Regions from separate parts of the Homo sapiens genome. Here all the other regions are linked to region 1. The links are contacts of gene promoters, found by promoter capture Hi-C in blood cells and fetal thymus (Javierre and others, 2016). All regions are on one chromosome and are shown on one strand. Each heading gives the region's core, a stretch centred on a gene start or on the middle of the fragment in contact. The rest is flanking DNA. Distances are from core to core; before and after follow the strand shown. Region 1 holds the start of NUDT15 (nudix hydrolase 15). Region 2 holds the start of HTR2A-AS1 (HTR2A antisense RNA 1). Region 3 holds the start of HTR2A (5-hydroxytryptamine receptor 2A).

The links. The method cuts DNA at HindIII sites, captures the fragments that hold promoters and counts their contacts. A CHiCAGO score of 5 or more calls a contact.
Region 2: a contact is called between the fragment with the promoter of HTR2A-AS1 here and the fragment with the promoter of NUDT15 in region 1, in 8 of 17 cell types (M0 macrophages, M2 macrophages, megakaryocytes and 5 more). The highest score is 21.2, in M0 macrophages.
Region 3: the fragment with the promoter of HTR2A here is called in contact with the fragment with the promoter of NUDT15 in region 1 in 10 of 17 cell types (megakaryocytes, M1 macrophages, M0 macrophages and 7 more); the score reaches 18.8 in megakaryocytes.

What each region holds. Positions count from the first base shown.
Region 1 is chr13:48,036,211-48,039,760 of GRCh38, forward strand. It overlaps NUDT15 (nudix hydrolase 15), which reads left to right and starts at 1,516. Exons shown (of 3, transcript NM_018283.4): 1 at 1,516-1,694. The coding sequence starts at 1,537. It overlaps LOC124903172 (a long non-coding RNA gene), which reads right to left and starts at 1,782. Exons shown (of 2, transcript XR_007063788.1): 1 at 1,396-1,782. RefSeq lists enhancers at 644-1,520, 1,521-2,396, 1,563-1,802, 1,853-2,012. The HindIII fragment of the contact is 6,950 bases long and covers 481-3,550 here.
Region 2 is chr13:46,850,239-46,853,788 of GRCh38, forward strand. HTR2A-AS1 (HTR2A antisense RNA 1) reads left to right here and starts at 1,902. Exons shown (of 2, transcript NR_103752.1): 1 at 1,902-1,988. The region is part of intron 3 of HTR2A (5-hydroxytryptamine receptor 2A); the gene reads right to left. The HindIII fragment of the contact is 4,589 bases long and covers 1-2,330 here.
Region 3 is chr13:46,895,079-46,898,628 of GRCh38, forward strand. HTR2A (5-hydroxytryptamine receptor 2A) reads right to left here and starts at 1,975. Exons shown (of 4, transcript NM_000621.5): 1 at 1,596-1,975; 2 at 417-1,156. The coding sequence starts at 828. The HindIII fragment of the contact is 5,377 bases long and covers 1-3,550 here.

The DNA.
Region 1 (3,550 bases), core at 266-2,765:
AACATTAGAATAGGGCCTACCCTAGTGGCTTCATTTTAACTTGATCCTGTCTCCAAATGCTGAGGTACTGGGGGATAGGACTTCGACATAGGAATTTTGAGGGGACACAATTCAGCTCAAAACAGTCATTAAATATGATGTTAGCTGTAGGTCTTTGTAGATGCCATATATCATGTTAAAGTTTCATTTTATTTCTAGTTTGCTCAGAGATTTTGTGGAGTTTTTTTAATCACAACTGAGTATCGGATTTTATTAATTTTTTTCTGCATCTATTGAGATGATTATATGTATTTCCTTTCTCCCTCTGTTAATATGCTGAATTACATTGGCTTTTCAAATATTAAGCCAACCTAGTATTTCTGGGATTAATCTCATTGTTCAATATATTATCCTTTTTATATACTACCATTTTTTGAGAAGATATTGTAAGTACCTTTGTAATGAATGTGAATGTTGATAGTGAGGAGAGATGCTGTGAAAAGCTTAATACCCATTTAGTATAACATGGAGAGTAAGCATATTACTTAGAAATAAGTAGGCAAATATCAGAAATACAGTTCAAAGAGTTAAAAGTGATTGTTTCTGAAAGTAGGAGGGTCAGGTTGCTCTTGTTGCGGTTTTTGCACCATTTTACTTCTTAAAATTATAGCTATAGGTCAGGCGCAGTGGTTCACGCCTGTTATCCCAGCACTCTGGTAGGCCCAAGTGGAAGGACTGCTTGAGGACAGGAGTTGGAGATCAGCCTCGACAAAAGACCGACAGCCCACCTCCACAAAAAAAAAAAAAAGAAAGAAAATTAGCTAGCTTGGTGAAAATTAAAATAAAATAAAATTACCAGTATGTGCACATTACTTTGGTAGAAGTAAAAATAATGAGAAAGAGAGAAAACCCTCCCAGTAACTAGTCATTTGTTTTTATGATTCAGCTGGTTTGTATTTTGCATGGTGCATGGTGTGCAAACATCTGAAAATGTCTGTTTTCCACTGTTTGTAACTAACTCTTCCCAGCATGATTTATCAATTAGCCTTTATTTCCTCCCATGACTTATGAATATACCTTAAGCATAGTTGTTTATAATGGGATGTTTCTAAACGACCTATCCTTATCCTGGTACCACGCTGATTTGAGCTACAGGGCAAATGGGTGCACCATGGTGGGCGAGGTCATTCACGGAAAAAAGAATGTGCAGTGGTGCCGAGGTTGGTAAGAGCAGGCGGCTTGTACATGTAAATGCATGGTTTGCAGGAATCTGGGAGTGGATAGGCTGACGGGTGATGAATATTCAAAGCACAACTGTAAGCGACTTTAGTTACAGCGAAACTCTAAGGCACGCTGCCCTTCGGAAGGAAACACGGCATTCCCCAACCTGATAGCCCTCCGCGACGCATTACGCACCGCGGACAGCTGGAGAGGCCGAGGCGCTCTCGCTTTGATTTCGGCGCCTCCGCCCTCGCGGGGAGAGATTGGCTGCGGCCGCGGGACGGGGTAGTGAGCGCGTCACTTCCTGCCGCTGCCAGGCGCGTCCTCCCGCGCGCTATGACGGCCAGCGCACAGCCGCGCGGGCGGCGGCCAGGAGTCGGAGTCGGAGTCGTGGTGACCAGCTGCAAGCATCCGCGTTGCGTCCTCCTGGGGAAGAGGAAAGGCTCGGTTGGAGCTGGCAGTTTCCAACTCCCTGGAGGTCATCTGGAGTTCGGGTGAGCAGCCGCGGACGCGAGGAAACCGGGGCGTGCGCAGAGGGACGAACTCACGCCGTGCTTGCTTCCGTGTGCCGTGCGTGAGAACGTCCGCGCTGACGCTGCGTCCTTTCTTGCGCGTTCCCTCGGTTCCTCCCCTCGACTTCTGGGCGACGTAGGATCGCGCCCAGGAGGGGGCGCTGTGCTGGGTCAGGCGAGGTCTTTGCTAGCTGGGTCTTTCCGGCTGCGCCCCTGCTGGGTGGTGGTTGGGAGTTCGTCTGTGAGGTGTGTTTCTCACAGCTTACACACAAAAGGAGGAAAGCAGGTGTGTGTAAACCTCCAGCAGCCCGATATTGTCAGCTAAGACATTGCACCGTTTCCATGTGATTGATTGATTGATCGATTGATTGATTTGAGACTGTGTCTCGCTCTGTAGCCCAGGCCAGAGTGCAGTGGTGCTATCTCCAGTCACTGCAACCTCCGCCTCCTGGGTTCAAGCGATTTTTGTGTCTCAGCCTCCTGGTAGCTGGGATTACAGGCGCCCGCTACCACGCCGTGCTAATTTTTGTATTTTTAGTAGAGACGGGGTTTCGCCATGTTGGCCAGGCTGGTCTCGAACTCCTGACCTCAGGTGATCCACCCGTGAGGTCAATGACCATAGCCAACATTGAGCTCTAATGGGCTTTTTGTTAAAGGCTGGATAATATGCCAAGCTCTTTGCATGTATACTTTCATTTGATCTTTACATAACTGGCATACTCAGTGGGCTAAATTTGATGGGAGAACAAACAGGAAATGGTTTTATTTTCTCCTTCCACTGCCTTCAAACATGATTTTTTCTTTCCCTCTTCAGTGACGTTTCCTGCAAATTCTATAGTTTTCTTGTCACTTGGTTATAAAAATAAATCACATTTGGGTCAGTATGATTCACTTCCAAGCATTTAAAAGTCCAATCCAATTTAAACCTTCAGTGTCACTTCCAGTTTCTAATCCCTCCCCTGCAGTGCATAAAGGAGGTGTGAGCCATTGTTCTGCTTTTCTGTATCCTCCTCCTCTTCTCACCTGGCTGTCTCTGAGTTTCCTTCTTTCTCCAGTGTGTTGGAGGAGGAGAGAGAGCAAGCCATTCAGGTGACTGATGCTGCTCTGATCCATCCATTGGTGTCCTCTGGGCATGATATCCACATGTGTGCTTTCTCAGGGTATGTTTGTCAGTTGTTGGGAAGTCCCACAGAGATTTTCCTGACATAGGTGACGGGCTTTCTGTGATGCTGGCCCACCTCCTAGCTCTTGCTTTTAGCACATCACCCCACATTTTCTTTCTACTGGGATCTCCTATTTGATTACCCAGCAGTCTCTTGTGGCATCTGCTTGGCCCAAAGGAAACACACAATGGGAATGATATTTCCACTGCTGCCCTTTTTCCTTGCTCTACCTCTGTATTCATCTGCATCTGGAAACTCCGAGGGACACATTTCAGATTTACCCAAGAGCTTTCACCCTTGTAGCACACCTTTTCTGATGCACTGGGGTAGGCCTGTGAGTTTCTGCAGCTCAGGATGTCTTTAGCAGGGGAGTGACACACTGAGTATCTCCTTCTTGAGTCACTCCCAATCTTGTGACTGATTCTCTTGGAATGTTCCTCACCTGTCTTGGGGGGGCAGAGTTGGCCCCTTGTAGTCTGGAAGGGAAATGCTCCTACTAGGCTGAAAACTCCAAACTTTCCTCTGTCTCAAACATCTCCTTTTTTTTTTTTTTTTTTTTTTTTTGAGACGGAGTCTCGCTCTGTCACCCAGGCTGGAGTGCAGTGGCGGGATCTCGGCTCACTGCAAGCTCCGCCTCCCGGGTTCACGCCATTCTCCTGCCTCAGCCTCCCAAGT
Region 2 (3,550 bases), core at 652-3,151, 1.2 Mb before region 1:
GTGGTGGTAGTAAATAATAATGATAAAAAATAACACAATCAAATACTTACATGGTGCTTACTGTGCTCCAGGCACTATCCTAAGTGCTTTATACAGATGAGCTCACTTACTCCTCACAGTCACCCTATGAGTTTGTGCTATTATTATCACTGTTTGCTGATGAGAAAGTGGAAGCACAGAGAAGTTAGGCAAGTTGCCAAATGTCACACAGTAAGTGCTGAAACTAGAATTTTGAGCCACAGCCTGGCTCTGTAGTCTGTATTTTTCTATGCTCTGTAGCCTCAGCACACTTTCGCCATCAGGTATGCAGGCTTGGGGATCAAACTTCCTCACTTCAGAAAAGTTGCTGCTTGAAGAGTTGCTGCTTCATTGCTGCTCAAGGCTGGCTCTTAGATCCGGAGCCTGGAATTCATGCAGTGTCCTACCTATGAAATCTTTCTGTGGGGACAGGCCTCCTTTTATCTGTGCTTGTGTTGCAGGGGCTATACGTTTCTCATTTAGAGCCATTTACATGCTATCTATGGGAAGACTGGCTATAGAAACCATCTTTTAAGAACTTAATGCTAAGGACCAGTTATGTTTTACTGCAAGTCTTTAATGCACAATGCCAAGATCAACATTTTTTGAAATTACAATTTTCTCTGCTATTTCTTACAATGCTTATTTTCTTTCCATGGTTCCCAGCTAATTGGTGTCCCGTACCTGTGCTGATGTTGAATGTTTTTCCTCCAAATTAACCTATAGATGATTTCTGGGGTGGGGGTGAGGATGGGGCAGAAACCCTTTGAAAAGGAGTGCAAAAGTTCATGTTCATGTGACTACGTACATTTTTCAGGAAAGAGGTAATTATCCCAATACTCTGCAACACAAAAAAGATTCTGAATCACTGAGCCTGGGTGTACAAACACTATGTCTTGTGTGTATGTGTCTGTGTATATGTGTGTTTCCTAGTAAAACCAGTTTCATATCTTCATAGTTCTATTTCTTCTGGATAGTACTTTTCTAGAGAATATGGCAGTAATTTCTAATTTTAAAAGACATAAGAAACAAAAGTCACAGTAAAAATCTAATCAGCCAAATAGTTTATAAGAAAATGCAGGAAAAAGATAAAGAATGAGCTCCTTGATACATTGTATATTCTGGTTCAAACATAGTACATGCACAGATACATACAGCACAAAACACACTAACTTTAATATCCTGTGGAGAAGTTAATTTGCTGGATTACACATATGCATGTTAAATGGGAGCATTTATTAGAATAAGTCAGACCAAAAGAACACTTTCGCACGGAATATTTATATAATGGAAACAGGGATTTCTGAAAAATTGCTTCAGTTTTCCAGGTGGCTTTACAAGGGCAGGATGGATGTAGAGTAACTGGGAGAGAGACTCTCCTTTTAGCAACATTCTGGGCATGAAAGGCAGTTGTGGATCCAGCCAAATAAGCTGCAAACTTCCCGATGATATATTCACCGCTTTTCTACATTTTGTGATAGTAATAAGGAAGGTGTTAGCTCTAGCCTGCTAAATGTTTGAATCTGATGCATTTTGTAATCAGCAGAATAATGGTCCCCAAAGATGCCTACGCCTAACTCCTGGATGCTGTGAATATGTTGTGTTATATGGCAAGGATAAACTAAAGTTGCAGATGGGAATTAAAGATGTCAATCAGCTGAGCTGGAAATAATTAGAGTGCCCTGGATTATCCAGGTGGGCCCAATGTAATCACAGATTTCCTTAAAAGTGGAAGAGGGAGGAAGGTGTGTTGGGTCAAAGTGATTCAATAAGAGCAGGATTCAATCTGTACTGGCTACCTTGGAAGATAACAGGAAAAGGACCGTGGGCCAAGGAGTGTAGGTGGTTTCTAGAAGCTGGAGGGGCCAGTGACATATTTTTTCCCTAGTGCCTCCAGAAAGAACGCAGCCCTACTGACACCTTGGTTTTGGCCTGGTGAGACCAACTTTGGACTTTTCACTTCCAAAACTGTAAGTAATAAATTTGTGTTGTTTTAAGCCAACAGCAGAGGTGTCATTTCAGTTTGTAGTCATTGCTACAGCAGCACTAAGGAGCTGGCACACATTGCCGGGACTCGCTCTGGCGCTTGGGCGGCACTGTAGGTGTCCACGTTCTTGGAGGTAGTCAGCAAAGGGGGGCTCTCTCGGCTGGGCTGGCCACGTCTGCTTACACAGAGTGCTACCCTCTTCCCACTGCGGTAACAGCCTTGCCTTAGCCCCTGTGTGTTTGGAGTGGCATTCGCTACAAAAGTTCTTTGTCAAAGGGACAAACGATGAGCTATGATGCCATTCAGACTGATGTGTTAACTTCTAAGCTTTCCTATGATTAAGATAATTGTTCTATGATATGAGGAGCGGCATTGCATGCAGTATATTTCTTTATGTGCTGTTAAAATGCAGTTCACGGCTGTAGACAGGTGGGGTGAAATTAGCACCAGACTGGGAGACAGAAGCCCTGATTTCTTTCCTTGGCCTGTCCACATACAAGCTATGGGTGTAATGAACTTTTGTTTTCCCATAAACATTTTAAAATCACTTAGTCATGCTCCTCAAAAAATTTTAACTTTTGGATTAAAACTGTTGAAACTGTAGATAATCTGGTGGAAAATGAACACCTTAGTTCTACAGTTAACAAAGGTAAGTTATCTCAATAATTTGAACATGTTATATTTTTATCTACTTAGGTCTTGTCTGTCCTATAATAGTTCTAGGGCTTTTTTTTTTCCTATAAAGTTCCTGGTAATTCTTATCTGATTTTTCTTTTTCTCCTTAATATAGTGCATTATTCTGAATTGTTAGGTAAAAGTTGGTCTGCTTGTTGTCAGTATCTTATAGAGTTTGTGCTTCTCATATGCCTAGAAATTTTTTCTTGTGACTTTATATCCCCTTCAGGGGATATAAGATGCCGTGATTAATATCGTACACCAGGAGAAGGGGTTACAGCCTGTGCGCCTCCTGGTGATCTTGATTAGGAAGAAGGGGAAGGTGGACCTTAGGGCAGATGGCCTCTAGCATTGAAATGTGGGCTCCCAGATCCTCCATCTGTCCACATCTTGCTGGACACCTCCATACTCATCTGCCTGGGCCACTTCTCTGACTCCCAATCCCCTAACCCTTGGGCTGGGAGGAGAAAGAGCTCAGAAGCCAGCAGGTTGCTCTCTTCCCTTGCTGTGTGCTCTCAGTGGTTGTTGGCAGCACACTGGAATCACCTGGCAGCCTTAAATACTGATAGTGAATTGAATCCATAGAGATTCTGATTTTGTGCATTCCAGGTGAGGCCAAGTGTATCAGGCTGTTTTAAACCTCCCCAGATGATTCTAATGTGCTGCTAAGGTTGAGATCCCCAGTCCCAGCCCTCTCCTGAAGCCACCCCACTGGCTGGAGAAGATACTGGGCTGACATTGCTTTTTCTCTGCCCTGCCATGGTCACTGGGTGGGCAGGCAGGCCCCTGTCCAGGGTAGCGTGGACACTCTTCCAAGGCAGCATCTACGACTCTCAGCTGTCACTCTCAGCTCTCCTCCATCTAAAACAT
Region 3 (3,550 bases), core at 725-3,224, 1.1 Mb before region 1:
AAACTGTTCTGTCCTGAAGGCTGGAATATTGGTTGGGAATATAAAGAAGCAAAAATCAAGTAGATTCAGAATGATGGGTAAGTTATTGGTTTATGACTGTATGGGGTAATTTATAAAAATTTCTACATTAAATGTACATGTTTTGAAGCACAAAACTCTCCAATGATCATTTTTACACAGGATGTACGCGTTTTGAAGCACAAAACTCTCCAGTGATCACAGGTCATAGACTGTCTGATTTTTATGTGAAATCCCATTTTAAGAGTAAAATATAAGTAACATAGTAGGCTCTAGTCTATAAACAAAGACTTCTATTTATAGTTTGTTTGCCCCCTGAGCCCCATCTCATCTGCTGGTGGCATGCACATGCTCTTTATTACCAGTGCGAATATAGCTGGGAAACTAATGCCACTCACCATACAGGATGGTTAACATGGACACGGGCATGACAAGGAAACCCAGCAGCATATCAGCTATGGCAAGTGACATCAGGAAATAGTTGGTGGCATTCTGCAGCTTTTTCTCTAGGGACACTGCCATGATGACGAGTATGTTTCCAGCAATAGTTAGAATAATCACTACGGCTGTCAGTAAAGCAGACCAGTTTTTTTCCTGGAGATGAAGTAAGGAGAGACACGACGGTGAGAGGCACCCTTCACAGGAAAGGTTGGTTCGATTTTCAGAGTCGACTGTCCAGTTAAATGCATCAGAAGTGTTAGCTTCTCCGGAGTTAAAGTCATTACTGTAGAGCCTGGTGTCATCATTTAATTGCATTAGGGAGTTCGTAGTTGAGCTCAAAGAAGTATTTTCTTCACAAAGAATATCCATGTCTAAGCCAGAACTTGTAGCAGATGAGGTGTAGAAGGACTAACAGGTTATAGTTTCTGCTCACCATTCACCTTGATGTACCCACACTCTGTAACACTGAGGCTGGTGTACATGCTGTTCTCCCGGGGCTGGATTTTTGTCTTCCATTATTACAATGATAGTTAAAGAACTGAACTGTGGTGGCTGTAAGTTTTCTTCATTCACAATTTTAGGAGAGTCCACTGTTTGGTTTTATTATTTTCTCACCAAACCGAGGACAAAAAAGCAGAATGAACTTTTAGCATAGAGGTTGCAGGGTTTTTTTTGAGCGCTCGGGAAGATAAATGTCCTGGACAAAGAAGAAAAGTTTTATAACTACTGGGACTCTTGTTTAACTATATCTCATTTTGTTGGTTATGCCGATGGTACTAGTTTAGCAACAGTATTATTAAAATAGCATGCAATCAGAAACAGTGGGGATGTACACATTCTACATTAAGAAAGTCAATTAAAAATACATCCAGTGTTAATCCCATAGTAATTGGATGTACTTTGGGTTACAGTTCTCAGCCATTCTTAAGCTGAATTGCCACAGCTGCTGTCAGGAATTTCAGCTCCTATAATGTTGCTTAGCTAATAAAAGGAAAACAAAAAAGTCTTAAGTAAAGATTAGCAGACAACTTTCCTCCCTGGAAATTCTCATTGAAATGATTACATGTTGGCCAAGCATGATTTCAAACCGGAAAGAAAATTACACAGCAATAAAATATAGCGGCATGAGAACTTACATTTGTCTTCAGGGTCCACACATGAGATACATTTGTTATTCTGTGACTCGCTGCATCTCTCACAGTAATTAAACTGGTGTAGAGTCCCCTCTTCTTGATCTTCCACCAGCATAATATGATAGTAATTTGGTTTCTGTTTTGCTGACTTCAAAAACTGCATGCAAGAGCTGAGCCAGCTCCCGCACTGCTAGGATCCTGTTGGCTTCCTCTGGCACGGCTCGGCTGGGTTCCTCCCTCCCTGTGCGGCTCGCCTCAGCAGGCACACATTTAGAAATCATTCACGAGCCCCTCAAAGTCGCACAAAAGAACTGCATGGGAAAGTAGGAAGAGCTGTCTGCACCAAGGGACTCCTGGTTTCCACGGGAATGGAGTAGCTCTCTGACTGTCTCGTTCATTTCATCAGACCTCCCTCTATGTGTATGTCATAAGCTGCAAGGTAGCAACAGCCAGGAGGGCGGACCAAACAGGCTTTTTCTTCTCCCTCTTTTTGCTACATATTAATATTGGGAAGTTTTCCTTTGCTTTTGAGAGAAACTGGAGAAATGGCCTTTTGTGCAGATTCCCATTAAGGTAGGTAAGTGGCACTGTGGTAATTTTTTAGGCTGAAGGGTGAAGAGAGAACATAAATAAGGCTAGAAAACAGTATGTCCTCGGAGTGCTGTGAGTGTCCGGCACTTCCATCCAAAGCCAACAGTGTTTGTGTCCAGAGTGGAATTACTGACATTGGCCACATAGGCTCAGGGTGGCTAGGCACGTCTGTGGTGATAACTCTGATAAACTATTAGCACTATTTTTATTTAATAGATACACCATTGAACTGGCTTATTTTCTTCAGCAGAAATATGCCACCCAGATATTATTCAAAACCTCACATGTGGTAGGAAATAAGTTGGTTTCGCAGTACCAATTTTTTTCCCCCACCAGTAATGACAACTTGCCTTACTTGTAAAGAAAGCCCTTTCCCAAGTAGGTTTCTAAAGGAGGCAGTTCGATCTCTCTCTTTTTGCAGGCATGAAAATATTTTCCTCAATAGTTGGGTTTTGCTACAGTTCTATCACCTTCTGTTCTTCACATTCTCCCTGGACAAATTCAACCACTCTCATGCCTTCAATATGTTTGTGGCCAAGTCTGTACCTTCATAGCTGATTATTTCTCTCAGTTCCAGACCTAAATCTCTAGCTGCCCATTGGCTCCTTCCATGGTAGCCTGGGAGACCTTGACCTCAGCATCTTCCCTCACTCCGCATCCCCCTGCCCGGCTCTCAGTGCTTGTTCCTACCCATTGGCTTGCATGATGGAATCACCACCTCTTCAGACAGCTGCTGTTATCCGCGACTCTTCCTTCATTCTCGCTGCCAGATCCCACTTCGTCTCCGGTGCTACCTCTGTATGCGTGTTTCTCACATGTCCTCTCCTGCAGCCTGCAGCTGGCACCCTGTGGTCGAGATCTAGCCACCTATTTCCTGGGTGGGTGCCTTAGTGCCCCCCTCACTGCCATGCCTGCCACCCTCCTACCCCTCCACGTTAAATATGCACGCTGGCGAGCAGGCAGCGGAGAACACAGACCTTAGAGTTCCTTGGTTTTGGATCCTAGCTCTATCACTCATAAACAGTAGAACCTCGCCTCATCTAGTTGCTCCCTTTAAAGCTCAGTCTTCTCACTTGTAAAATGGGATAATACCTTCCTCATAAGATTGTAGTGAAGCTAAACTGAGATAATGTGTGTAAGTATTTGGCCCATGTCTGGCTTATAGGAGGTTCTCAAGTAATGTCAGCCACTTTCATTCCTATTGATATTCTTACTGATATTAATGACACAATTGGCATCACTCCCATGCCTACACTCCTGCAGTCCCTTCCTTGTGGGGCACATAACACTTTTCTTCATCTACCTGTACCCTGCTTGCCCCACTTTGCAGGCCTGGACTCTGGTTACTCTCCCAGTCAGCCTGTATG